4 separate regions of the Homo sapiens genome follow, and regions 2, 3 and 4 are each linked to region 1. Evidence: promoter capture Hi-C in human tissues and cell types (Jung and others, 2019). All regions are on one chromosome and are shown on one strand. Each heading gives the region's core, a stretch centred on a gene start or on the middle of the fragment in contact. The rest is flanking DNA. Distances are from core to core; before and after follow the strand shown. Region 1 holds the start of SLC25A4 (solute carrier family 25 member 4). Region 2 has its middle 61 kb from the start of STOX2. Region 3 overlaps LOC107986330 (a long non-coding RNA gene). Region 4 overlaps FAM149A (family with sequence similarity 149 member A).

Region 1 (6,782 bases), core at 1,409-3,908:
AGAAAAAAACTGATATATGTACTAGAGTAAATAGACTGCTATATCTATAAAAGAGATACATTTACATCAGAACATGAAATAGATCATCATCATACCATAGATCTGTTCATAACACTAATAGAATGATATAATAAATATCAAAAGGAAAACAACAAAATGAAAAACATTCAACACATATTTATTGTCCCAAATATATAAAGAATTGTTGTTAATATAAATACTCTGCTTTCACTCCAGCAGTAGTCAAGGAAGATTAAAAGTTTATACAAAAGGGAAACCTTGTCAAACTGTCAAATTAAATTGAATCATATGGAATATATACAGCTTCATAGTAATTAAGTAAATACAAACTAAAACTCATAAATAACTCACAAATAACCAACTCTCTATTTTTTTAAAGCCAGTGTTGGAGAAGAGTGTGAGAGAAAGCCCATCTATATAACTGGTGGGTTGGTATTTCTGAAGAGCAATTTGTCAATATGTAGCAAAAGCTACAAAACTTTAAAAATCTTAAATCTATCCATTCCATTTGGGAAATATATGAGAAGAAAAAACTTAGAGGAGAAAATGAAGTTTGTGTAAGTTTCAATGTAGCAGTATTAGTTTTCCTTCCTTCCTTCCTTCCTTCCTTCCTTCCTTCCTTTCTTTCTTTCTTTCTTTCTTTTTTTTTTTTTGAGTCAGAGTCTTTCTCTGTTGCCCAGGCTGAAGTGCAGTGGAGTGATCTCAGATCACCATGACCTCTGCCTCTCGGGGGTCTCGTGCCTGAGCCTCCTGAGCTGCTGGGATTCCAGGCATGAGCCATCACGCCAGGCTAATTTTTGTATTTTTAGTAGAGATGGGGTTTTGCCATGTTGGCCAGGCTGGTCTCGAACTCCTGACCTAGGTAATCTGCCAGCCTCAGCCTCCCAAAGGTATGAGCCACCACACCCGGCCTATTTTTCATCATAAAAATAAGACACAATTCTAATGCACAATTAAAAGGAAAATGGAGGTATAAAAGCAAGTGCTCTATATTACAGGATGGGATACAGTACACTATTATAATTAAAAAGGTTTACTGTGTGGATTATGCTGATCCATGGAAATCAGTAAGTGAAGTTTTGATAAAGTGGAGCAAGTGACGAATACACTGAACTGTAAGGTCTTTGGAGATGGGCCACGTCTACTTATATTCAATCCACAGGGCTACACCTAGTTCTTGGTACACAGTACATGCTCAGCAAGAGTCTGTTGAATGAACACATACATGGTTTATCTGTTTGTCTCTTCCGAGTTCTTGACTTCTGTCTGCTCTGACCTCTGGCAGCTTTCCACTAGTTTCTAGCTTTCATTCTGCTTACCTGGATTTCGGAACTCTAGCCTGCCCCACTCTTAGATAAACGCATGCCCTCTGTGGCCCTGGAACCTTAGTGACTTCTGCTATACCAAAGTCTCCACGCCCAGGGTGACACGCAGCTGCAGCTCCGTAAACCTCTAACATGATGTCAGCAAATATTAAAAAAAAAAAGTTTATAAAACAATGAATAAACTTTGTTAAAGGTACAAATGAAAATTAGCAAACATGGGAAGATAATTGAGTGAAGAGTTTAAAGTTAAAAACGAATTGCAGTCATTCTAGGGGAAGGAACAGTTGTATTTGAAAACCTGTATGGTTACATGAACTGCCTAAAAAACAAGCTAAGGAAAATTAAAGCTCAGATTTATATATTTTAAGAAATTAATTGCAATTAATTTCCTGGGATTAAATAGCATTTCCTCAACCCCAGCTGTCATTAAAAAGAGGCAAATACAGCCAAGGACTGGATCTCCGGAAGGCTGACAGCACTGACCCTCAAGAAGGCACCGGCTGACAGACAGAACATTCTGCCCTAATATGTGCTGAAATTCCGCTGAGAGCAGAGTGGTACATTGAACCCTTTAGGGGCTTACAAAAGAAGTGTCCTGTGTTTTAGAGTCACAGAGTTTTGCAGAAACAAGTATGAATTCACCTAGTGGCCCCCTGCACCAGGTCTTTCCTGTGGGCACTGAGTGCCAGACACATCAATATGTAATAGCAGAATGAATGACTGAACGAACGATTGAATGAAAAGAAATGAGAGGCAGCAGGTTGTCAGATTCTATGAGGCAATCACAGCATCAGGTGACCTTAGTATCTATTTGAGAGGACTGCCATTTATTCTCGGGAGCGCACGGCTCTAAAGAGGCCCATATCCAGGCAGTGAGCTCTGGTGGGGGGCGCCTTTAGATGCAAGAAGGAGGAAACAGCTCGAAATCCCTGGGCCTGAGCGCGGCCCGTGCAGGCCGGAGGGTCAAGAACTCTCCACCGGCGGCAGCGGCCCGGTGTCTGCCCCGGCTTCGCCCCGGCCTAAGGCTGCCTGTGCTATAAATACGCGGCCCACATGCCGCGGTGACACGGTGTTCCCTGGGCTCGGCGGGACAGATAACATGAATGTGCCCTTTAAACGTCCCAAGTTGCAGGGACAGCCCCCGGCCCAGCCTCGCTCCCGGAAGCGCCTTCGCCCCCGATGCCCTCTGCAGCTGGGAGGAGGGGGCGCCCCGCACCTGCCCAGCCAATGCGCGGCGCGAGCGCCGGCCGCGACCCGCCTCCTCTCGCGAGAGCCCGGCGGGGATATAAGGGGGAGCTGCGGGCCAGGCGGCGGCCCCCTAGCGTCGCGCAGGGTCGGGGACTGCGCGGCGGTGCCAGGCCGGGCGTGGGCGAGAGCACGAACGGGCTGCCTGCGGGCTGAGAGCGTCGAGCTGTCACCATGGGTGATCACGCTTGGAGCTTCCTAAAGGACTTCCTGGCCGGGGGCGTCGCCGCTGCCGTCTCCAAGACCGCGGTCGCCCCCATCGAGAGGGTCAAACTGCTGCTGCAGGTGAGGACCGCGCGGTGCAAGAGGCGGGCGCGGGCGCGGCGGGCCGGGCGGGGCGCGCGATGCGGCGCGAGCTGCAGGGCGCGGGGCGCCGCGGAAAATCTGCGCCAGGCCACAGGCCCGGGCGCCCGCCCGCCCGCCCGCCCGCCCGCGGGGGAAGAAGGTGCCCTCTGCGTAGAGACAGGTCCAGCGTCAGTCGCAGATTCCTGGTGTCGGGTGGCGCCCGGCGTTCGGGTGTCTATATATGGAAACCCACCCGGAGCCGGTTTACGTGTGCCAGATCCTGCGCCCGTGACAGCACGGGCGTGCACTCAGGCCCGGAGGCACCTAGTGATTGCCAGTATTTTTGGCACCGTCTTATGCGCACGCACCTTTACAATAAAAACATCAAAATAATCATCACCCAAGAATTCCCTTATCGTATCTCATGCACAATGCTGTATGTAGGCTGACGCCTTCATCTTTATGTAACCTCTGTGAGAGAGTTATTCTTCTCCATTTTACAGATGAAGCTGAGGTTTTGAAATATTAAGAAACAATTTTCGGAATAAACTCAGATCATCCTGTCTCCAAATCTTTTCCTCCCCTACCTGGTCGCTGAATGGTTTATCATCCTCTCGTGTTTTCCTCCACCTGCCCAAAAGGTCAGGGCCCCTCAATGAGGAAGAGCCCAATTTGGGAGTCAGAATTACTAACAACAAAACCCCCACAAATTGCTCACAACGGCAGCAAACCCTTAATAATTGATTACTTGGATTATCTGCTTGAAAACTTTGGAGGCCTAATGTTTAGTGGATTTATTCTCCTTCCTCTATTAGAGCATCTAGTAGAGATCCTCATCTCCAGGGTGATCAGAGTGACACTGAGAAATTGTCATTTTTTGGCCATCATGTCTATTAAATCCAAAGCCCTTTGAAGCAGGGAGTGTTACTCATTTCTGTCCCCCAGTAAGCCCCTCATACAGTTCTCAAACCTAGGGAAAGTGAAATAAATAAATGGCTATAGCTTTATATAATTCAATCACCTTTTCAGTTTATTTGGGGCAATACCTTTTCCCTCAAATACCCTAATAATTGAAGCAACATTGGATTATTTTGGCTTGTTATCCAGTAACTAACATGGATAACAGTATCCATTTACACGTCCTCAGTATCCATTTGATTTCCTCATCCTTTTTTTCTTCAAAAAAAAAATCTAGGAAGTGCAAACCTTTTTTTTTCTCCTGTCCTCTTCCCTTCTCTCTACCCTGCCTGTCCTCTGTCACCCACCCTCCCCTCCACCAGGTCCAGCATGCCAGCAAACAGATCAGTGCTGAGAAGCAGTACAAAGGGATCATTGATTGTGTGGTGAGAATCCCTAAGGAGCAGGGCTTCCTCTCCTTCTGGAGGGGTAACCTGGCCAACGTGATCCGTTACTTCCCCACCCAAGCTCTCAACTTCGCCTTCAAGGACAAGTACAAGCAGCTCTTCTTAGGGGGTGTGGATCGGCATAAGCAGTTCTGGCGCTACTTTGCTGGTAACCTGGCGTCCGGTGGGGCCGCTGGGGCCACCTCCCTTTGCTTTGTCTACCCGCTGGACTTTGCTAGGACCAGGTTGGCTGCTGATGTGGGCAAGGGCGCCGCCCAGCGTGAGTTCCATGGTCTGGGCGACTGTATCATCAAGATCTTCAAGTCTGATGGCCTGAGGGGGCTCTACCAGGGTTTCAACGTCTCTGTCCAAGGCATCATTATCTATAGAGCTGCCTACTTCGGAGTCTATGATACTGCCAAGGGTGAGAGAGGGGCATCGGGGAGAAGGAGGGTGGTGTGGAAAGAGGATCCTATGGGATCTATAACTCACAAAGGACCTGATATATATTGATCTTGTTTTTTCTAGTCTCTGGGATAATTGAGGCTTCTGAATGAGGAGGTGATGTGCATAAGTTAATAGCTGAAGCGTTCCTTGTGTCCTCTACTGAAATAAACTCTGGCCTTTAGTTATTCAGAGAGGAGGAGGGGGGAGCCTGTCTCCCTCTAGACACAGCCATAGCAGTTACTGAGTTTAACTTGAAGCCACTTCCAATGCCCTGTATACAAGCTGAGCACTGCCCCTCCGGGGTCCGGAGAGGGCAGCAGCCACCTTTGCTGTCTGCCTGGTCATATGTGAAGCACCTGCACAGGGGCAGGTTCCCCGCAAGGTCAGAGCATGGAGCTGGAGGTGCAGTGGCCTCTCTCCCTCCACCTGCTTTCTGCTGAGAACAGGCACTTCATAGCCGTTCGGCTTCTGGGCTCTGTCCACAGGGATGCTGCCTGACCCCAAGAACGTGCACATTTTTGTGAGCTGGATGATTGCCCAGAGTGTGACGGCAGTCGCAGGGCTGGTGTCCTACCCCTTTGACACTGTTCGTCGTAGAATGATGATGCAGTCCGGCCGGAAAGGGGGTAAGCTTGTGCTCTACTCATCTAAACTTGTTTGGTTTTGCCCGAGGAGAACATTTTACAGGGCTCCTTTCAGTCTTCCTTACTGGAAATTAATTTTCAAAATTATTTGATAAGGACTTAGGGAAGAAAGATGGTATTAATTCCCCCTAACGTTCTCAACTATCCTATTAGGGAAAAGTATTTTCCATTTTATTAGAGATGATAAGAACATGAATAGTAAGACATTTAGATGTGAATTTAACTAGGTATCCAGCATTATAGAGACCCTAGGCCCTCTTCCCTTAGAGCCTGGGTGCAAAAGCTAGGGAAAAGAAGTAGTTAGCTACTTCTTACAAAGAACTCTTGCTTCCCTCCTAGTTACAGGTGTTAGTGGGATGGGGTGTTTAGCTGGGTAGAGATGGCCTGAAGCAATCTGTTGTGCCAGAGAAAGTTTTGGCTTCTATAGGTTGAACCATACGAAATTGCCACTTTAAAAGTCAAAAACAGTCCAATGTTAGCAGTTTCGTATGTTTCAACGAATAGTTACAGCCTTTTATTTAGACTGCATAACCTCGTGCAGGATCATCTGAGGCTCGGCCTCAGTTCGGTCCTCCATAAAAAAAGGTAACCGCGTAGCATAATACTCCTGCTCCACTGCGCCCTTCTTGTTTCGCAGTTGGGCAGTCCATGAATTACTTGGTTAATTGCCCCAGTTCTTCACTGACCTTGAACTAATGGAGTAGGAATGACAGGAGACCCAGCCTGCCAGTGAAGCAAGGAAGGAGATGTCCAGTGGGATGTTGCATGGAGCTGGGACTCCATGCCCAGATGACCCTGATTTTATAAAACTGGTAACAGTGTGTACAGATATGTTTCAGGGGAAAAGTCTCTTTCCTCCAGCGTTACGGAGCCCTCACCAGCATTTGTTTCCACAGCCGATATTATGTACACGGGGACAGTTGACTGCTGGAGGAAGATTGCAAAAGACGAAGGAGCCAAGGCCTTCTTCAAAGGTGCCTGGTCCAATGTGCTGAGAGGCATGGGCGGTGCTTTTGTATTGGTGTTGTATGATGAGATCAAAAAATATGTCTAATGTAATTAAAACACAAGTTCACAGATTTACAGTGAACTTGATCTACAAGTTCACAGATCCATTGTGTGGTTTAATAGACTATTCCTAGGGGAAGTAAAAAGATCTGGGATAAAACCAGACTGAAAGGAATACCTCAGAAGAGATGCTTCATTGAGTGTTCATTAAACCACACATGTATTTTGTATTTATTTTACATTTAAATTCCCACAGCAAATAGAAAATAATTTATCATACTTGTACAATTAACTGAAGAATTGATAATAACTGAATGTGAAACATCAATAAAGACCACTTAATGCACGCTTTCTATTTTATTGAACTCTTATTAACTGTAAAATGCATTTTTAAAAGATCAAAAATGCATATTTTCTAGCATGATTCATGTATCAGTCAGCAGCCAAGCTTCTAAATGCCAGAT
Region 2 (6,782 bases), core at 2,939-5,438, 1.3 Mb before region 1:
AGAAGCCATCTGACGTAGCCCCTTCATCACTGCAGATAAACTGGTGATGCTTTCCTGACACACTTAATGGCAACCAGAGGTTTTCTGCACGTTTGTGTTTGTGTGTAAGTGTGTGGGGTGAGTGTGTGGCAGTGGTTATTTGCTGTATTTTGACTGCATAAAATTGCCATGCTTTCCCCTCGGTCTCCTAGAAATCCTTGTAGGATAATTATAACACAAGAAACAGATTTGATGGAAATTCTCATAATTCTCATACTCTGAAGCTTAGCTCATATGCATATTTCAGACTTGCCAGAGCCCCTCTTCAGTGGCTTGAGACTTGGTCTTAATCTTTTTGTCTGACTACAAAAAAAGTTCAGTGATGTGGTTAGTGTGTTCTTAGAGACACTGCACACTGTGGATCTGCGGGAGAGAGTTTCACTCATTGTATTCTGTTATTTTTTTTGAGACAGGGTCTCACTCTGTTGCCCAGGCTGGAGTGCTGTGGCGGGATCTCAGCTCGCTGCAATCTCCGCCTCCTGGGCTCAAGCAATCCTCCCACCTCAGCCTCCTGAGTAGCTGGGATTACAGGTGCACACCACTACATCCGGCTAATTTTTGTATTTTTAGTAGAGATAGGGTTTCACCATGTTGCCCAGGCTGGTCTCAAATTCTTGGGCTCAAGTGATCTGCCCGCCCCGACCTCCCGTGCTGGGATTACAGGCGTGTGTCACCACGCCCGGTTCAGTTTTCATCGTAGTATTTATTTATTTATTTATTTATTTATTTATTTATTTATTTATAGACAGGTTCTAGCTGTGTGGCTCAGGCTTGAGTATGGGGTGTGATCATAGCTTACTGGAGACTTAGCTTCCTGGGTAGCTAGTACTATAGGTGCATGCCACCACACCAGGCTAGTACTGTAGGTGCATGCCACCATACCAGGCTAATTATTATTACTATTTTTTATTTTTAGAGAGACAGGAACTTGCACTGTTACCCAGGCTGGTCTTATATTCCTGACCTCAAAAGATGCTCCCTCCTCGGCCTCCCAAAGTTCTGGGATTACAGGCTTGAGCCACTGTGCCACGCCGTAGTATTATGAAATCATCAGAACCCTTGGTAGCGTGCGATTTCTTCCTCCATCTCTTGTGCTCAGCCTGCTTCTTATTTTAAAATGAGGTTCATTTGTAAGTTGCCTTGCTCACTATTTTTGAACATTTAAAACAACTTTTTAGAATAGGTAAGAAGTTGAGAAAATAGAGACAGAAAAAAATACACAGCTTATTAAGGCATTCCAAAATACATGCCAGATGATTATACAGAGCAACTCTTATTTTAGGAATTTCTTATTGGATGAATGATGAAATCAAATACTAAGTTGGCTTTGCATAATCAAGATATTGGAAAATAGTGGGTAAGGTAAATGCTTATGGTGGGAATTTAATTTTCCCATAGAGTCATACAATTTGAAAGAGTCATTTATATGGGAAAAAAAAACTTGACTGTGGAATTATTAATACCAGCCTTACTTTCAGCAAGGGCTGTGTCCTTGCCAGTGTGTGGCTTAAGTAATGAATTTCCTCATATAATCCCTGTAAGAAAAGTTAGATGGATAATGAAGCCACTTGATCCTTTCATGCTCATTGCCACATATATTCATTAAAATATCACACAGGTAATTCCTCATTTCCCTAGTAGCTCTTACCACCTTTCCAGATTTGAGTGTTGAAGAGACCAGTCTTCTTACTGGCTGCCCCAGGCATTCAGCAAAACTCAGTCTTTGTAGGAATGTCTTAGATCTGCTTTTTTAGATGGAACCTAGTCTATATCAGTTTACTAGTTCCATACGACGTGGCTAAACTCATTTTTCAGATGCTTTGAATGGAGTATAGAAGACTATTGCTTTACTAAAAAAGCAAACATGAAAACTTCAAGCCTCACAGTCAGCTCCTATCAATTTCCCTTTAATTACCTCCTCAAGTACCTGTTAATGGCTCATTAGTTATAAAAATAAATTATAGGTACTCTGCCACCCTGTTTGTAGTTTCTTTAGTTTTTGATTTCGCTAACCCCAGGAAAATGGATGTGTGGCAATAATACAGGAATGTGAATCAAATTGCTCTGTAATTTTATATATTTAATAAAGTATACAGCAGGGCCGTGTGCACATGGGGTTAAGCTGTGGTGGAGGAAAGTGCTCTGTGAGAAAACTGAAGTCCTCATACACCATGTTGGCTGCCTATGTTTCATTTCACGACATAGTGCTCAGCAAATAGGGCTGATTGGTTTTCAGTCCGGTTTTGTGTGGTTTTAGGTTCATAATGGTTCCTTTTCATATATGGCCTTTGAAACTTGCTTGACACTGCAGTCATCTCTCATAGATAAAATAGGTCACAGTGAGTTTTAAATTCTTTTTTTTTTTTTTTGAAATAAAAATGTTATTCAGGCCGGGTGTGGTGGCTCACGCCTGTGATCCCAGCACTTTGGGAGGCCAAGGCGGGTGGATCACAAGGTCAGGAGTTCAAGACCAGCCTAGCCAAGATGGCGAAACCCCATCTCTACTAAAAAATACAAAAATCAGCCAAGCATGGTGGCAGGTGCCTGTAATCCCAGCTACTCGGGAGACTGAGGCAGAGAATTGCTTGAACCCAGGAGGCAGAGGTTGCAGCGAGCCAAGATCGCGCCACCGTACTCCACCCTGAGAGACAGAGCGAGACTCCATCTCAAAAAAAAAAAAAAAAGAAAAAGAAAAAGAAAAAGAAAAATGTTTTTAAAATAAAATTGCAGGTGGTATCCCAATCTGCAAGGATAAAAGCAGAATGACTCTTTTTGGGAGGAGGGAGAAGAATCTCAGAACCTTGGCCACACAGTTCACACAGAGACGTCACCCTGACCCGTAGGACTCCGCAGAACTCAGTGTGAAAAACACCAAAATAGAAGATGAAATCATTTTTATGCTTAAGTACTAAATATTTCCACTCAATTTTTAGACTTGTTCAGCCACAAATGTAGACAGAAACATTGTGTACCTTCCTGGGCACTGAACTTTAGATCAGGAGTTGGCAAACTTTTTCCACAGAGGGCTAGATAGTGTATGCTTTCGACTGTGGGGCCATATGGTCTCTGTCACCACTACTCAGCTCTGCTGCCGTGGCACAAAAGCAGCCAGGGACATTATGGAAATCGCATGAGCGTGGCTGTGTTCCAGTAAAGCTCTGTGCATGCCAAAATTTGGATTCCATATAATTTTCACATATGATGAAATATTGTTTTGATTTTTTCTGATTTTAGCAAAAAGATACTCTCGGCTCTTTTTCTTCTTTGAGTTTTAGTTATTATAAAGGTAATACCATGAAAGAACATTTCAAAAGGATGAGAAACTCATCTTTAATTCCATAATCCATGTTCTTTTCTTCATACGTCACTGTATCTTATAATAATTGTAATTATAGTTGACCCACAGTTCTGTACTTTTGCTTTTACTTACTTAATTTTTTATACGTAAATCATAGTTTATGTAGTGTAGGTGTAAAATTCTGAAAATAAATTATGTTTACTTTTCTTTAATGTTACTTATTTAATTGCATCTACTCCCAGTGTTCTTCTACCCAATCCGAATTTCTAATCTTTTTAAAAGCAATCTAATAATTGTTTCTTAAAAAAACAAAATTATTATTCAATTTGGTGAATTTGTATTTGTTGGTATTCTGGAATATAAATCTCTGAAAAAGGGACACCCCATTGCAAGTAGATATGAGGATGGCAGTCATTTTCTTCCTCCAACCCTTAACACTGTCTTGGAGAGTTCCCATGTTCCGGTTGAATATTTTGGTACTGAAAAATGTCTTCAGGAAAGCAACAATTGTTTTCCTAGAAAAAAAACCTGAGAACTCATTTCTCTCTTTAGGTTGCCTGACATTTGTAGCTGAGTGAAACCATGGTGAGCATTGATTTATTTTACTATAAAATTATCAGTTTTACTCACTCAAACAATCCTTTTATATTAAAAATATTTTAAAAATAAAAGCAGGGTATTGTTTTGCTTTACTAAATGGAGTCACCTCTTTTTCTCTTACTTTTGACAATTTGGTTGTCAAATTGTGTGAATTGTGAAAAAATAGCCCTGAGTACAGAGAATTTTTACCTCAGGGATATCAAAAAAGTCATGTTAGTAATAAAATAAGCCATTGATTGTGTTAAAACTCAAGGTGGGTCATTTAATTGCAGTTATTAAAAAGTTCTTTCATTATTTACCTCTGGGAGAGACTGTAGGTAGGACTGTAAGATTATTAATGAAAATGCGTGTAGATTGGTTTAAATGATTCAGCTTCATCTCACCAAGGAGTTAGCATGTTCATTCATTTTACAAAAGTGTATTGAGCACCTCGCCTACTATGTCTTGAGTAATTTGTTAGACATACAAAGTTGACTAAAACATGGACTCTGACCCCAAGGCTAAAATGTTATTTCACATGTGCACAGTGCTTTACAGATTACAAATGACATCATTACATCCTCATAAGAATCTCATGAAGCAGATGTTGGTTCCATTTCATTCATGATGAAACTAAAACATAGAAAACATAATAGTCTCCCCAAGGCTGCCTGTAGCACAGTTCCTTAGATTCCCAATCAGGTGACCTTTCCAAACTGTAGAGATGGCTCTATAATAGTTTAAAAAGGAGAGATAAGAAATGTCCACCATAGGTAAATACAAAATAGACAGTAATACGTACAATCACAGAAGTTCAGCTAAAGTGGTACAGGAGTCCAGAAGACGGAGAGATGGCTTCTGGGTAGGGGATGGATAAAGGGCATAAGGACTAGGGATAGGGATGGATGGACTGTGCACTTTCAGGGCAGGGGAAGATCATTCCATCCAGAGCCGGAAAAGCTTCAGAAAAGCTTAAGCCAGGTGGGATATGGCATGGGAAGAATGGAAATAGGAACAGTCAGTGGTTCAATTTACCTTGAAGATAGAATATATCACATGGAATTATTAGAGATGAGGACAAAAAGATGGAAAAGAAACACATCTTCCAGGTCTTTGATGCCAGGCCATAAAGCTTGAATTTTTTTTTGCTGGAAGTGGAGAGCCATCTGAGGCTTCTAAGCAGAAGTGTGCTAATCTGGCAGCAGTTTTGAACAAGGGAGTTGCAAACTCACATACCTGTAAAGGCCATGAAGATAATAGAGAAGTGATGTGGAGAGGATACAGCAAAAAGAGAAGTATTCTCCAGGGGACCATCCACCATTCAATGCTTTGGGAATGCAATCTCTCATTCTGCTGCAGATTTACAGTTCTCCTCTGCATATGTGCTTTATTAAGTTACATCTTTATACGATGTGTTCCCATTGACATAGATTTGTAACTTTTATGTGGTTATGTTTTAAATCTTACAGAAAAAAGGAGTTAATAGTCAAATATACTTTAATACTGACTTTTATATGTACTTATGTAGTGTACTTATAATATGTACTTAACAGTGTTCTTTATTTCTTCGTGCATATTGAATTATTGTCTAGTATTTTTTCATTTCAACCTGAAGGATTTTTTGTAGGGCAGGTTTACTAGTGACAAACCCTCTTGAGTTTTTGTCTATCTTGGAATGCCTTAATTTCTTCTTCAATTTTGAAGGATAGTTTGCTGAATATAAAATTCTTAATGGACAGTTTGTTTTCTTTCAGCACTTTGCATGTCATCCTATTGCCTTCTGGCCTCCGTGGCTTCTGATGAGAAATTAACTGTTAATCTTACTGTGTATACCTTGTGACAAGGCTGTTTTCTCTTGCTGCTTCCAGGATTCTCTTTTTGTATTTCGACAGTTACATTATAATGTATCTTGTTTTGGACTTGTGTGAATTTATCATGCTTGGAGTTTGTTGAGTTTGTTGAATGTGTAGATTCATGCTTGGCCATTATTGCTTCAAATATTCTTTTGCCCTTTTTCTCTCTCCTCTCTTTGTGGAACATCACGTTGGTGTGCTTGATGGTGTTCCACAGGCCTCTTTGGTTCTGTTTATTTTTCTTCATGTTTTAATTTTTGTTCTTCAGATTGGGTAATCTCGATTGACCTATCTTCAAGTTTGCTGATTCTTTCTTCTGTCTCTTTAAATCTGCTATTGAACACTGAAGTTTGCTTATGGTACTTTTCAACTCCAGAATTTCTTTATGGTTTCTTTTTATAATTTCTGCGTGTTTATTGATATTCTCTATTTTGTGAGACATCATTCTCATGATTTCCTTTAGTTGCTTGTATATTTTTTTCTTAAAGCATTTCAACATATTTAAAATAGTCAATTTAAAATCTTTGCCTAGTAAGTTCAATAGCTTCCTCAGAGACAGTTTCTATTCATATCTTTTCTTTTTTTCCTGTGCGTGGGTCATACTTTCTTGCATGCCTTGTAATTTTTTTTTTGAAACTGGGTTTTGAATATTGTAATGTGATAACTCGGGTAGTCAGATTCTTTCTGATTCTCAGGACTTGTTGCACCTGCTTATTGTGGTTGCTGTTTCTTTGTTTAGTGACTTTTAGAAACTAATTTTGTTAAGTTCTGCCTTCTTTGTCATGTATGTCCATGGAAGCTTATGTTTGGTTAGCTTAGCAATTTGACAAAGATTCCCTCAAACATCTGGAACAAAAACAGAAAAAAGAATCAGAGAGCCAGTGTGCTGTGTGTATTAGGTTATGCCTTCAACCCTCAGCCATACAATTCCCAACTCTGCCTTAGCCTTCACTTCCTGCTTGTGCAGAGCCTGAAAGTCAGGCAGAAGTGAGAGCTCAGTGCCATCTCAGGTC
Region 3 (6,782 bases), core at 2,790-5,289, 1.1 Mb before region 1:
TTTGGTTCAAAATACCATGTTCAAAAATACCTTAGTTATGCATATTTTGGATTCTAATATTTCAAATAGACATGGACAATTCATTTGAGATAAGTTGGGAATTTTCTCTTGGCCAGTTAAGATATTGAGGAGAAAATAACTTGATATAAAAAGTACTTTTCTGGATTTTTCTTTCCTTTTTTTTAATTTAAAGAAGGATGACTTGGGATGTACTTGAAGCTTCTTGAGAGTTTGAGAATATCTTAAGATAGATCCTGGTTTTCTCATAGTCTGGTACTTGTATCTTTCACTACTTCCTGTCTTAATGTTATTCTACGTGGGAATAAATGCCAACATGGCGTCAAGCAATGAGCTGAGTTTAACACAAAATGTTAGAGGTAACCTCCTTGTTCTTTATCAAAAGATAAGAGAAGAAGAGAGATCCAGAATTTAAAATTTTCCCCTTTTCCTCCATTGGAACAGCAGCTCTTCTCTGAAAACACCTCAATACCAAAGATTCTTCTTAATCACACACATCTTTTAATTAATGTGATTTTATTCTAAAGAAAGCAAATGTCTTTGACTTTCAGTTCAATTTCTAAAAGGGGAAACCATGTACTTGGTCCCTCTGTGGGGCTCTTTGCCATTTTAATCTTTTATTTTCTCCCAAATTATGAATGTTCCTCAGTGAGTCTTGATAATAATTTCTAAATTAGCCTTGTCTGAACTTGTGTTTGATAATCTTAGGTATTTAATTATAAGTGTCATAGATTCCTAGCATTTCCAGTCCAGGTGTCAGATTAAAAAAGACAGTTTGACATCCTCATTGTGCAGGTCATTTTCATCATTTTCCATGCCAGGAGCAAGGTAATTAATATTGCTCTCTCACTGCAGGGACAGAGTAGTAAGTTTCTAAATGTTACACTTTACCTATATGGATAGTGATGCACATTCTGCTTGCAATTTCTAATGCGATGCCCGAAAGAATGCTATAGATGGAAAGCCATACCGTGGAAGACAACGGGCCAATTCTCACAAGCAGCAGGGTAGCTAATGTCTGCTGCATTGTTTATTTTACACAATTTTTGAAAAGTGAACAGAAACCATGATTTTAAATTTAATTAAGAAAGATTATGTTGGGGGGAGGCAAATCAGATAATCACATGCACAAAGGGTTTAAAGGAGAATTGTTTGGACCTAAAGTCCTATTTTGTTGTTGATTTTCATCTTCCGACAAATTGCTTCCCAAGGCTCTGAGTTGATTTAAAGTCAACAGGAGTTCTGAATGGGGTATGAAAATAAACAAGAATGGGGAAAAATGGGAGATTTCTGGATACTGATTCTGAAGATATTTCACAGTTAACATTTTTCACTGCTTCCCATATATTTAGCCCTTTCCAGGGGATCAAAATGCTCATACCCCATCCCATTTTCCAGTTAGAATTTCACCTGAGAATTTAAATGCACGATCAGTAGCTTGCTTGGTGAGCAAAGATTTCAGCACAAGAAGTGACTCCCTGCTGACAGTGGCCTGTGAGCCTCTCCTGGCTGGATTTGTGTCTGTCAATCCCTTGTCTCTCTGCATGGGTTGTGCCCCATCAATCTTGCCAATCCCTGATTATTTGGCCTTACCTCTTTTCTGAGTTCTGGACTCATTGAGCAAGTCATACACATAAAAATATTTACTGAGCACCTGCTTGCCACAGGCCTTGGTCGACAATCTTTCTCCAGTCAAGGCATTGTACAAGTGATACCTGTTCCTTTGTTAAATCACATCCAAGTCCCTGTCTTCCTGAGATTGCCCCATATTGATTTTAATTGGATTACAGACATTTTCAAAGTCATCTTAGTTTGTTGAGAGACAGCTTACATGGCATGTACATACCCTTGAAACTGGAAAAAATAAATCACATTTCTCTTTTGGAGATTTGCAAAGGAAGACAAAGCCCAATGAACACTGGTAGAACAGAAAACAGTTTCCAAAATCCTTAACTGTTATTGCCCCTTTCTCTTTTCATGGAATTGTATAATTACTATCATTTTATGTTATAGAAAAGTTTCTAGTCTATCACATTTCATACTGTAGAAAAACATCATTGAATGGTGCACTTTGATGGAATTTGAAATAACTAGTTGTTAGTTTTCTGATCAATGACATTTAGAATTGTTTACTATGTGCTAAGAGAAATCAATGGTCAGCTTTGAAATATCCCAAATCAACGTTCTTAAATAGAGAAATACATGGCGCCTGAATGTTTCAAACTTGCACTAGGGGCCAACAGCCTCAGAAGCATCTTAGACACCTCCCCCAACCATCATCAAAAAAAAAAAAAAAAAAAAAGGCATGTATTGCAATTCTCAGATAACCAGTTTGCTTTAGATACATGCAAGCTGCCTTTGGTGCCTGCCACAGCTGCAGGTCTTTCTTGGGAGTTCCATGCGGTGGAGGAAAGGCAGATCCTGTAGGCCATCGGTGGCTAAACAGAGGCATAAGGCAGAGTTGGCGATTCAGCCACAGCCCTGGAATGACAGTGTCCCCATATGGCAAATCCCTCGCATAGAAGGCCATGGGAAATCCCAACCAGGGACCCATGATGGCAGCTCTAGAACTGCGTTGCTCTCTGACCTCTCTGCTAGGGCCAAGACTGGCCAAGCTGCTACCTACTGTGCCCTGGTCTGTGCAGGTCCCCTATACATTCCCACCCGAAACTTCCAACACTGAGCTAAGCTGAGCTTGCTGTGCTCCCCTCAGTGTGAAAAAGCTTATCTCCCACCACGTGTCAGGAGCTTCGGGGAACCAGGGCTGTGTGGGGATGGCTCTGCCTGTGCCGAGCCCCGTGCCTGTCACTGAGACATTTGAGGGTCCGTTTCTTGCCGATGAGGCAGTTTTTTAAAAGGCTCTCCATCTGGGGACGACTCATCCTGTGTGAGGCAGGTGCTTAAGCACTTGACGTGCTTGTGAATTTCAATAGTTGCAGCAGCCCCAGGGGGTGGGAGGCGTTATTGGCATTTCACAGGTGAGGAAACCGAGGCACAGAGAGCTCCGTGACTTGCCCAGGGTCACTCGCGAGTGAGTGGCTGAGGCAGATTCTGCATTCTAATCTGATTAAATCCAGAGCCCACATTTTTAAGCACACTGCTCTGCAGCTCCGGGGTCTTTTATCACTTTGTTTATCGTGAGTATTGATACAGGAGACTCCTAAAGTGATCCATGGATTGAGGCTGTCAAACATGAACCCAGAACACGTTGTGTTTTCAATAGGGTGTCATTCTTTATACACAAAGACAACAGACTCTTAATTCTGCCAGTGCCGCACACTGTGAGCTTTTTAAAAAAACAGCAACAACAAAAAACAGCAGTGGGATAATTCTGCTTATTCCTCTGTGTTCTGAATGGGTCACCCTTGTCTTACACCCAACAGCTCATATTTTGCAATGCCTGGTATTTAAAGAGTAGCTTCATTAAATAAAAATGTGAAGTGCGTGGCCTAAGGGGTTTAGGAAGAGTAGAAAAGGAAAATAAAGCTGGGCACTGTGGCTCACACCTGTAATCCCAGCACTTTGGGAGGCTGAGGTGGGCGGATCACCTGAGGTCAGGAGTTCAAGACCAGCCTGGCCGACATGGTGAAACCCTGTCTCTACTAAAGATACAAAAAATTTAGCTGGATGTGGTGGTGGGCGCCTGTAGTCCCAGTTACTTGGGAGGCTGAGGCATGAGAATCGCTTGAACCCAGGAGGCGGAGGTTGCAGTGAGCTGAGACCATACCTACTGCACTCCAGCCTGGGCAACAAGAACAAAACTCCGTCTCAAAAAAAAAAAAAGAAGAAGAAAAGGAAAGGAAAATTTCTCACGCATCCAGTGCATATATTTTCTATTCCAAACAGTAAGTGTAATTCATCAATTTATGGGTGGGAGAATGGTTTGATAAAGATGGACAGCGAGTCACTGAGTCGCCCGTGACGATGTGGTCTGTGCTTCTGTGTGTATGCTGTGATGTATTCATTCATAGCAGCCCTCACATCCAGTTCCCATGGGGTGCTGGGTTCTCAGGAAATGCATGTGAGGATGGAAGACACGGGACTAGAATGCACATGACTTTCAGGGGAAAATTGTTAGTTTTACAGTAGATGGAGAAGGAAATTTGCTTTTCATTTGACATCTTACTTTTCTTCTTTTCTTTTTTAAACTAAATCATTATAATCTTATTACAAGGGTAATATGTCTTCAATTTAGATAAGTTGAAAAAATATAGAAAGCCCCAAACTTATACAGAAATACAAATCTTGATTTTATTCTTGGTCCCTTTATCTGAAGGTTACGTAAGTCATTTTCAGAAAGACAGAATGCTCGAGTCTAAATCTCGCCCTCTCAACACTCACCTCCCTCGAGGAAGCTGAAGTCTCGGTCTCCGTCCGCGCCCCCACACACTGCCTTGCCAAGGGGCAGCAGAGCTTGCGTGGAGCCCCCTCCTCTCTCCTTTGGCAGGGTCTCTTGGTTTCAAGTATTGCCTCTTGACTCCAAAATCTGGATTTTCAATCCTGACCTTCCATGTAATTAATCTTCGGCTGAAAATTTCATGCTCATCCCTACTTTTCACTCCCCTTTAGATCACACTAATGCAGATCTTGTTACCAAATGCCAACACTGTTAGAACATCTCTTAATTCGTCTCCCTGACTCTAGTGCCTCTCCTTCTAATCCGTTCTTCATACTGGGACTAGTTTAATTGTTTTAAATCCCCTCATGTTCTCTGATGCCTATAGGGTAGTGTGCTAACATTTTAACCTGGAAATAAAAATGCTCTGCTGTCTTGCCTTTATTTACCTGTTCAGTTTCTCTTTCCGATTATAGTCCTGATACGGCAGAAGCATTTAGTATTTACTGAATATCCACGTGCTCCCCTGCATTTCCTGGCCTCCCTTACTGGCAGACTGGGCTAGGATGACTGAGTTCTGACTAAAGGGATTTGGGTAGAAGTAAGGTTTGTCACTTCTAGGCCTGGACATAAAAGCTCCTACATGGCTTTTCAGTCCTCTCTTCACATTTCATGGTGTCTTCGGAGGTCATGTGCACTTTCTAAGCACATTCAGAAAGTGCAGCTATAAATAGTGAAGCCTCCATCAGCCTGGGTCCCTGAATGACCTTGCGGAGTATACAAACCCCTGTTGACCCATGGTGGATGTGTAATGAGTAAGAAATAATTTTGTTTTTGTATTAAGCCTTTGAGATTTTATGCTTAATTTGTTACTATAGCATAGTCTGTGCTATCCTGGCAGACCCCACAGGAATGCATCTTAAGTACCTCGGAATTGAGCCATAGGCCTAATCTATTACTTCTGACTAAGAAGAGAGAGTTGAGACCTAGTCCCAGAACTTCAGTTCTAGAATGACCAATTCAATGATCCCCAGATTTTGAGATTTCATCAACTGGGAACAGTCAAAATAAAAACTAAGAGTTTGACAGGAGTTACCAAATGATAATTTTGCCAAGAAAAGGCATTTGAAAAAATCCTGTCATCTACTGTTACAACCATTTCGTTAAAAAGGACGTATAATGTCACATACCTCCTCCCAGCAGGGAGAACATACACTGTCAAAATTAAGGGTGAATTTTGTCATTGAATAAATTTTGCATCATAAAAAATGAAACTCTTAACAATATTGTTCTAACTTTCTCACTTCAGTATTTCCCAGTAAACACTTAGTGACGGAAGTGCTGCGGTGGGGACCAGCGTTCGCAAAGTGCAGAAGACACGGTTCCCCAAGTGAAGCTTGAAGACCTAGAAAGACCTGAGTCAGGTTTTCCACTGAGATGTGAACCAGCTCCTGGGGGCCCCTGGGGTGCTGCCTTGTTGACCGCAGGCCTTTAAGATCTTTGTGTACCGCTGAGACCTCTTGATTCTAAGGTAAGGGGTAGGAAAACTCTTGAGCACTTACACCAAAATGTGTAGGGGGCGGGGGTGTGCGGGCTCACGGGGGTTTACACATAGCTAATAGGTGTCAGGGGCAGGACTGGATTGAACCTCAGCCCCACTCCACCATCTCGGTGCCATTCCACTCTCGAGAGATTGAAGACTCAGAGCTGCAGGGAAACCAAACAGAGCTACCCAAGGTTCCTGGAATGGATTCTGCCAGGGTCCTCATTTGGTGACTGTGTTGCTCTCCCCAGGCCCTGGGTGCTGCCTCAACCTGCTTAGGTCCTTCCAGGCTCAGCCCTGGGGGTCTCTTCTCCTGGGAATGTCCCCTAACCCCCATGCAAAGGCTCAATTCTTTCCCCTCATGCTCTCACAGCATCCTGCATATACAGTTGACCCTTTAACAAGACAGGGGTAGGGGTCCAACCCCTTGTGCGGTCAAAAATCCATGTATAACTTTTGACTCCACAAAACCTTAACTACTAATAGCCTACTGTTGACCGGAAGTCTTACCAATAACATAAACAGTTGATTAACACATACTTTGTGTTATATTTATTATATTCTCTATTCTTACAAGAAAGAAAACTGGAGAAAAAAAGTTATTAACAAAATTACAAGAAAGCCTGGTTGTGGTGGCTCACACCTGTAATCCCAGCACTTTGGGAGGCCAAGGTGGGCAGATCACTTGAGCCCAGGAGTTTAAGACCAGCCTGGGCAACATAGCAAGACCTCACCTCTACAAAAAATACACATAAACAATTAGTCAGGCGTGGTGGCAGGCATCTGTAGCTCCAGCTACTCGGAATGCTGAGGTGGGAGGATCACCAGAGCCCGGGAGGTGAAGGCTGCAGTGAGCTGTGACTGCACCACTGCACTCCAGCCTGA
Region 4 (6,782 bases), core at 3,189-5,688, 1.0 Mb after region 1:
GGTTTCGAACTCCTGACGTTGTGATCCGCCTGCCTGGGCCTCCCATGGCATGAGCCACTGCGCCCAGCCTCTTTGCTTTCTTTAAAAGTGGTTCCCCACTCCCACTGCACATGGGAATCCGCTTCTGTCCGCAGCTGTGCAGCTGTGATTCTCAGGGGAGCCGGCAGGGCAGGTGCACCGAGGGGGTCTGAAAGGGACTCAGCTCAGCACTGCTAGGAGGACCTTTCACGCACGCAGCTCCCTTACTTAGGGGCAGCTGCCTCCTTCCTCTCCCTTACGCCCACTCACCACCATCCCTCAAGCCCGCCTTCCTTGGTAGAAGGCTGAGCACCACTGCTTTACTCTGTCCAAATTCTAGGATTCTTTTAGTACAACGTTTAATGGAATTACCAGGGAAATTCGTATAACTTCCATTAATACTCAGGCCTCACCCTAATAACCACACTTCTTAGGATAACTAAGGATTTTTTTTTCCAGTTCATTGATTTAAGGAGATTAATGGCCTTTTCTACAAAAGTAATTTTCTTTTCTGTGGTATCACCAGAAGAAAAAAAAATCTTGTATTTTGCAGGTGTGCTTAGGTGTGTCAGGCACAGCTCTGTGAGGAGCTGCCTGTGTTTGCAGACATACAGATGTGGACGTGTCTGTGTGTCTACGCTGATGTCTGTGGCAGTATGAACACGTCCATCTATACCTCTATCTATGCAAATTCTTGAGTCTCATAACTTCCGTGGCAGAAGTTTTCTCTATTTAACAGTAAAAGAATCCGAGGCTCAGAATGAGATGGCATTTCTCAGAAAGGTAACAGCTAGAGCACAGGTGTGTCTGACTGCAAAGCCACCATCTTTTTACCAAGTGATGCACCCTCCTACATAGTGGGTGACAGTAAATGTATAAGTAGCGTTGATCCAGAAGCCCGCAGTTCTGTAACTTGCAGTGTTGTAACCAAGTGTGCATTTCTGTTTAGGAATTTGACGAAGCCAGTTCACAGTCAGTGCAGCGGTTACTCTGGGAGGTGGAGGAAATGTTATTTGAAGGGAAAGTGAACCCTCAGACCCAGAGTCTGCTGGCCGAATGCGGGGAGTGGACAAGAAGATCCCTCCATTTGAGGTGGGACCTTGGTGGTGGAAGTTCTCTGGGGTGGGTTTTCCAAGCACCCACCCCTGACCTGCCTCGATACATTCAGTACATTTGGTGTGAAAGTGCCTGCCCAGTCAGAATATGGATGCAGAGCGCAGTCCTTCACTGAGAGATCACTTTCCTCTTACGGCGTCTGAGGAAATACTGAGACATTCCAGTACTCAAGCGCCTTTTAATTTGTGAGAAGCAAATTCAGGCCATCCTGAGAAGGGCATGACACATATACGAATGCAAGAATGGTGGAGGCCACCTCTTACCTTCACATTCACTGTGTGTGAGCAGCACATGTCTGTCTTCATCACAGAACACAGCGAGGGTGGGCAGAGATGATTTGCTGAACGGCTGGATAGATGGGTCTTCCCATCTCACCCATTCCTTATGTAGGGAGGAGCATGTGTTACTTTTCATATCAAAGATGGAGAATATGGATTGGGTATGAAGGCAAGCTTTTCTTTTCTTTTTGCTTTTTTTTTTTTTTTTTTTTTTTGAGATGGAGTCTTGCTCTGTCGCCCAGGCTGGAGTGCAGTGGCGCGATCTCAGCTCACTGCAATCTCAGCCTCCTTGGTTCACGCCATCCTCCTGCCTCAGCCTCCCGAGTAGCTGGGACTACAGGCACCTGCCACCACGCCCGGCTAATTTTTTTTATTTTTAGTAGAGACGGGGTTTCACCGTGTTAGCCAGGATGGTCTTGATCTCCTGAACTCGTGATCCGCCCGCCTCAGCCTCCCAAAGTGCTGGGATTACAGGCATGAGCCACCGCGCCCGGCCAAAGGCAAGCTTATCTTTCAGTCACTCAGCCAACGTACTGGGGGACAGTTTATCAAAGTTACCTGAGTTCCTGTGGATTCTGTCTGGGGAGAATGAATCAGAACACTCATGTAAATGTGGCTGGATTTCCTGGTTACATTCACTAGGTAACTTTTACAGAAATCTTGACCAACTAGGGTTGTTTTTTTTTTTCTTTTCAACCCTTAATAAGCCACCTGCCCTAAAGAGTATGATATGTCCACTAGATACTAGTTGTGGATACTCACTTTTCTGGGGATGATCACTCACCAGAAATTCGGGAGCTCACACTTATTCTTGTCACTGCTGTCTTACATCATTGATAGAAATGGAGGGAAGGTGGGAAAAGATTGTCAGGTACATAAGCCAAGTGTGCATATTTATATATTTGTATTCTTGTTATGTTTGTGTTTAACTGTGTATTAGTTAATATGTATGGAGGGCTTCTTTGTGCCCAGTGTTGCCTTAGACACCTGAGTCTGTCATATATGATCTCTAAGCCATTCATCAGCCCTGCAAGGTAACCATTATTATCCTGTTTTGCAAATGAAAGACAAACAAATGAAATTAGCCTGAGAACCTTGCCTGAGACTGAGTCAGTGGAAGAACAGTCTGGCCTAAACTCTCAAAGTCACACTTCTGTGATGCGTGATGCTTCCCACGTTCCCATACACATCTTATCATACACATGCCTTCAAAATCATTGTCTCCTACTTTTAAAATCTCCAAACATTTTCCCTTTGTCTGATCAAAAATGTCAGTAGCTTCTCTTTGACCTCGCAGAGTATTAGGAAGACAGCTGATCCTGCCCACTGACAAAGGCGTCCAGCATTTCCAGGGCAGCACTCCTGCCTCCGCAGTCCACAGACCCCCGCTCAGTGCCTGCGGACACAGCAGCAACATCAGAGAGTATGTTCAGATAAGTGACTCTCAAAAAGTATTGTTAGCTGTATTTTAGTTATACTTTTTCATGTTTATCTCATCTATAAGCCTTGGCTCCACCCATTTTGGAAATTTAGATTCTGATGAAGGGCAGGTACAGAGAACAATTTTTATAAGAAGCTTTTGATTCTGAATTGATGATAGGTGTATATGTGTGTATATAGAGAGATGTGTAATATATATATGGAACACACATGCACACACATGGTAGTTACCTTCCATGTTTGTTCCAAAGGCGCTGTGAAAGGTGGACTGGGTGCAGGATGGAAACCGCCTCACTGTGATGGATTATAAGCCTCCAGGCGGTGGCAGCAGGAGAAATGAAGCTCTGTCCTGTCGTTTCTGTTCACTAGCAGATTTTGATGACTCTATGCCATTCACACATATTTGGTGTGCCGTGACACAATGCAGTCCTTTCACTGCAACCAAAGAGGGTACAAACTCATAGAATAATTTAGGCTTTTAAGAAGCCCTTAAAATGTTTAATGATGCCTGTATTAAAGTGTTTTTAAGGACGTGAGTTTTGTCCAATGTAATATTCAACCGTTTTGGGAGGGGGGGATTCTGTACTTTACAGATAATTGAAAGATCCGCCATGATCGTTTAAGCATTGCGTTCTTGGTGTTCTATAAACTCCCATGTAGAATCTGTTTTTTTCCCATAGGTTGTGCATTTCTGGCTCTCAAATAGTCCCAGCAGCACTCTCAGCCTCTGCCCTGCCAGGCCCTGATGACACAGGGGTTGCTGACCTAACGGCACGTTCATCCCTGGAAGAAGAGGTTTACCATGTGGATGGAAAGATTGAGGAGTATTTCGCTTTTGACAGAAAAGAGGAGTAAATAGAATCTTATTTGACATTGACCTCATAAAATAATATTAATTTATTTGACATTTATTGTTATCGTATGCTCATTAAGTGTTTTGTGTATTTTTTACTCACCCAAAAGATTTCTGTTCTTTTGAGAGTAATGTACTCCCCAGAGCTTTTGGATTCCTAGCCAGCGGTGCACGTGCGGGAGCAGCGAAGAGGGTGTTCAGTGCCCTTGTAAAAGCAGACAAGGCTCCTCGCAGCCCTGGTCCTGGGGGCTCCAGGTTCCCCAGCCCTGGCTGCCCAAAAGGGCCTAAGGGGAGTTCCTGCCTCTGTACTAAATTCGTATTTTGTTCTTTTTTTTTTTTTGAGACGGAGTCTCGCTCTGTCGCCCAGGCTAGAGTGCAGCCGTGCGAGCTCGGCTGACTGCAAACTCCGCCTCCCGGGTTCACGCCATTCTCCTCCCTCAGCCTCCCGAGTAGCTGGAACTGCAGGCGCCCACCACCACGCCCGGATAATTTTTTGAATTTTTTTTTAGTAGAGACGGGGTTTCACCGTGTTAGCCAGGATGGTGTCGATCTCCTGACCTCGTGATCCTTCTGCCTCGGCCTCCCAAAGTGCTGGGATTACAGGCGTGAGCCACTGTGCCCAGCCTTGTATTTTGTTCTTAATCAAAAACTACAACTATTACATGATAAAACTTTGCCCCGTGATTGAAAATTGGCACATTAAAAAGTAACACTGATAAAACAAGTCTTAACACATTTGAGAAGACTGAAATCAAGCATCTTTTCTGATCTCAGTGGTACAAAACTGAAAGTCAATAACAGGAAGAAAACTAGAAAACTCACAAATATGTGTAAACTAAACAACCTGCTCCTCAACAACCAGGCAGTAGGTCAAAGAAGAAACCTAAAGGGAAATCAAAAAATATAATGAGACAAATTAAAATGGAAACACAACATATTAAAACCAAACTTATGGGGTACAGTAGAAGCAGCTCTAAAAGGGAAGCCTATGGCAATAAATGCCTACATTGAGAAAAAAGACATATCTGAAATAAACAACCTAACTTTATACTTGAAGGAATGAGAAAAAGAACAAACTAAGCCCAAACTTAGTAGAAGGAAGGAAATAACAAAGCTCAGAGCCGAAATAAATGAAGAGACTAGAAAAAAAAAGAAAGATCAATGAAACCAGGAGTTGGTTTCTTGTTTTTATTCATGTGTAATGGAAAAAAATTATATATGTTAAAAAAGAACGATGCTGTTTAACAAAGAATGTTTATTAATATATGTATACATGTACATACGTGAATGTGTGTAGATAGAATTATTTTAACTCTAAGCATTGATCTTTTAGTAATTGGAGTGGGTTTTTATTCTTAGTGATGATGAATGTCTTGAACAAAAACCAGCTCAGCCCGGTAGGAAATGGCGCAAACTCGGACTTCCTCCTGTTTCCCCGCGTGACTGTGTCAAAGATGCCGTGGCAGCAGAAGTGTTTGATCACGTCTGGACAAATATGGTAGAACTTTTGGAAGAGCTGATTAGAAAACACTGGGAAACTACACTCACAGGTACTTACATGCAGAATTTAGCTTAATGAAAAGAAAAAGTCCCTGTTCTTCGGCCCTGGGCTCCTGCTCCCCAGCTTGGCCAGACCTAGAACGTGACCAGTGAGAAGACAAGTGGGTGTTCTGACTTTACTCATGAGTGCTCTTTAGTCCCTTCAAAAAGGACGCTATTGTTTTTTGTGTTATAAAAAATAATGCAGGGCTGGCTGGGTGCGGTGGCTCACGCCTGTAATCCCAGCACTTTGGGAGGCCGAGGCAGGTAGATCACCTGAGGTCAGGAGTTCAAGACCAGCCTGGCCAACATGATGAAAGCCTACCTCTACTAAAAATACAAAAATTAGCCGGGCGTGGTGGTATGTGCCTGTAATCCCAGCTACTCGGGAGGCTGAGGCAGGAGAATTGCTTGAACCCAGGAGGTGGAGATTGAGATTGCAGTGAGCAGAGATCACACCACTGCACTCCAGCCTAGGCAACAAGAGTAAAACTCCATCTCAAAAAAAAAGAATGCAGGGCAGGCATGGTGACTCAGAACTTTGGGAGACCAAGGCAGGAGAATTACTTGAACCCAGAGGTTCAAGGCCAGCTCAGCTTGGGCAACATAGTAACACCCTGTCTTTTCAAAAAATACAAATAAAAAGTTAGCCAGGCATGGTGGCACATGCCTGTAGGCCCAGCTACTCAGGAGGCTGAGATGGGAGGACCCCTTGAGCTCAGGAATTCAGTATTGAAAGTGAGCACTCCATCCTGGGCAACAAAGCGAGACCATCTCTCCCCCAAAAATAGCAGTGCATATGCAGTCTGGAAAACACACAGATACACAAGAACAAGGCTAGAAGTCATGTTTTTTGTTATAGTAAAAATAATTTACCTAACTACTCTCTAATAATGAGATATTTGTTTTTCATTGTTCGTGACATTATCTGTAATGTAAAATGTAAACATTGCTAATTGAATCATGCTTTAATCCTCTTACATACAAAATATTCTCTAAACTTAACATTGAACAAAAACAAATCATAAAAATGTCAGTGATGGACATTAATGACCAGTTTTATTAATCAATTTGTACAATAAGGCAATAATCACGTTAACCTAAATCCTGTTCTTTTTCCAGTATTTAAGGAATTAGTTGGGCTTTATCATGTGCTGAGAATCTGTATTGCCCACTGTGTGATCTGCTTCTCCAAGCCCTGCAACCACAGTTCCAGCAGCCAGTTGCTCCACAGGGGTCTCTGCCCTCCGTGGTAACATGTGGAGTGGCCGTAGCATGGGCTCGTGGTAGCTCAAGCACACATATTCTCTTTCAAGAGTGAATTTTAAGTATTTGTATTAGATAATCTGATGTTTCTTGTAATATTGATTCTTCTGTTGACACAGAAGGGAAAAAACAGAGAGAAACATTGAAAGTGGCTGGAAACAGATTTCCGCACGTCCTCGTTCCACACGCTCACGCCGATGGAGCCAGTGGCCCCCCGTCCGGACACGCCGAGGCTCACGGCATCTCCCTGGCTTCTCGTCTGAACCCGCCCC

Evidence for each region. Contacts are between HindIII fragments. The study calls those that stand out against the background at their distance.
Region 2: a contact is called between a fragment that was not itself captured here and the fragment with the promoter of SLC25A4 in region 1, in 1 of the 25 tissues and cell types used here (aorta).
Region 3: a contact is called between a fragment that was not itself captured here and the fragment with the promoter of SLC25A4 in region 1, in 1 of the 25 tissues and cell types used here (spleen).
Region 4: a contact is called between a fragment that was not itself captured here and the fragment with the promoter of SLC25A4 in region 1, in 1 of the 25 tissues and cell types used here (dorsolateral prefrontal cortex).

What each region holds. Positions count from the first base shown.
Region 1 is chr4:185,140,608-185,147,389 of GRCh38, forward strand. It overlaps SLC25A4 (solute carrier family 25 member 4), which reads left to right and starts at 2,659. Exons shown (of 4, transcript NM_001151.4): 1 at 2,659-2,876; 2 at 4,157-4,643; 3 at 5,152-5,292; 4 at 6,207-6,782. The coding sequence starts at 2,766. The coding sequence ends at 6,364. RefSeq lists a silencer at 2,431-2,730. The HindIII fragment of the contact is 7,904 bases long and covers 1-6,031 here.
Region 2 is chr4:183,840,441-183,847,222 of GRCh38, forward strand. It overlaps a transcript of STOX2 not described here. Among named protein-coding and RNA genes, the nearest start is that of STOX2, 61 kb to the right of the region's middle. The HindIII fragment of the contact is 3,239 bases long and covers 2,570-5,808 here.
Region 3 is chr4:184,054,209-184,060,990 of GRCh38, forward strand. LOC107986330 (a long non-coding RNA gene) reads left to right here. Exons shown (of 3, transcript XR_002959824.2): 2 at 5,664-5,885. Among named protein-coding and RNA genes, the nearest start is that of STOX2, 150 kb to the left of the region's middle. The HindIII fragment of the contact is 5,119 bases long and covers 1,481-6,599 here.
Region 4 is chr4:186,150,936-186,157,717 of GRCh38, forward strand. FAM149A (family with sequence similarity 149 member A) reads left to right here. Exons shown (of 14, transcript NM_001395294.1): 4 at 968-1,110; 5 at 2,710-2,835; 6 at 3,533-3,703; 7 at 5,065-5,255; 8 at 6,630-6,782. Among named protein-coding and RNA genes, the nearest start is that of FLJ38576, 37 kb to the right of the region's middle. The HindIII fragment of the contact is 5,374 bases long and covers 1,752-6,782 here.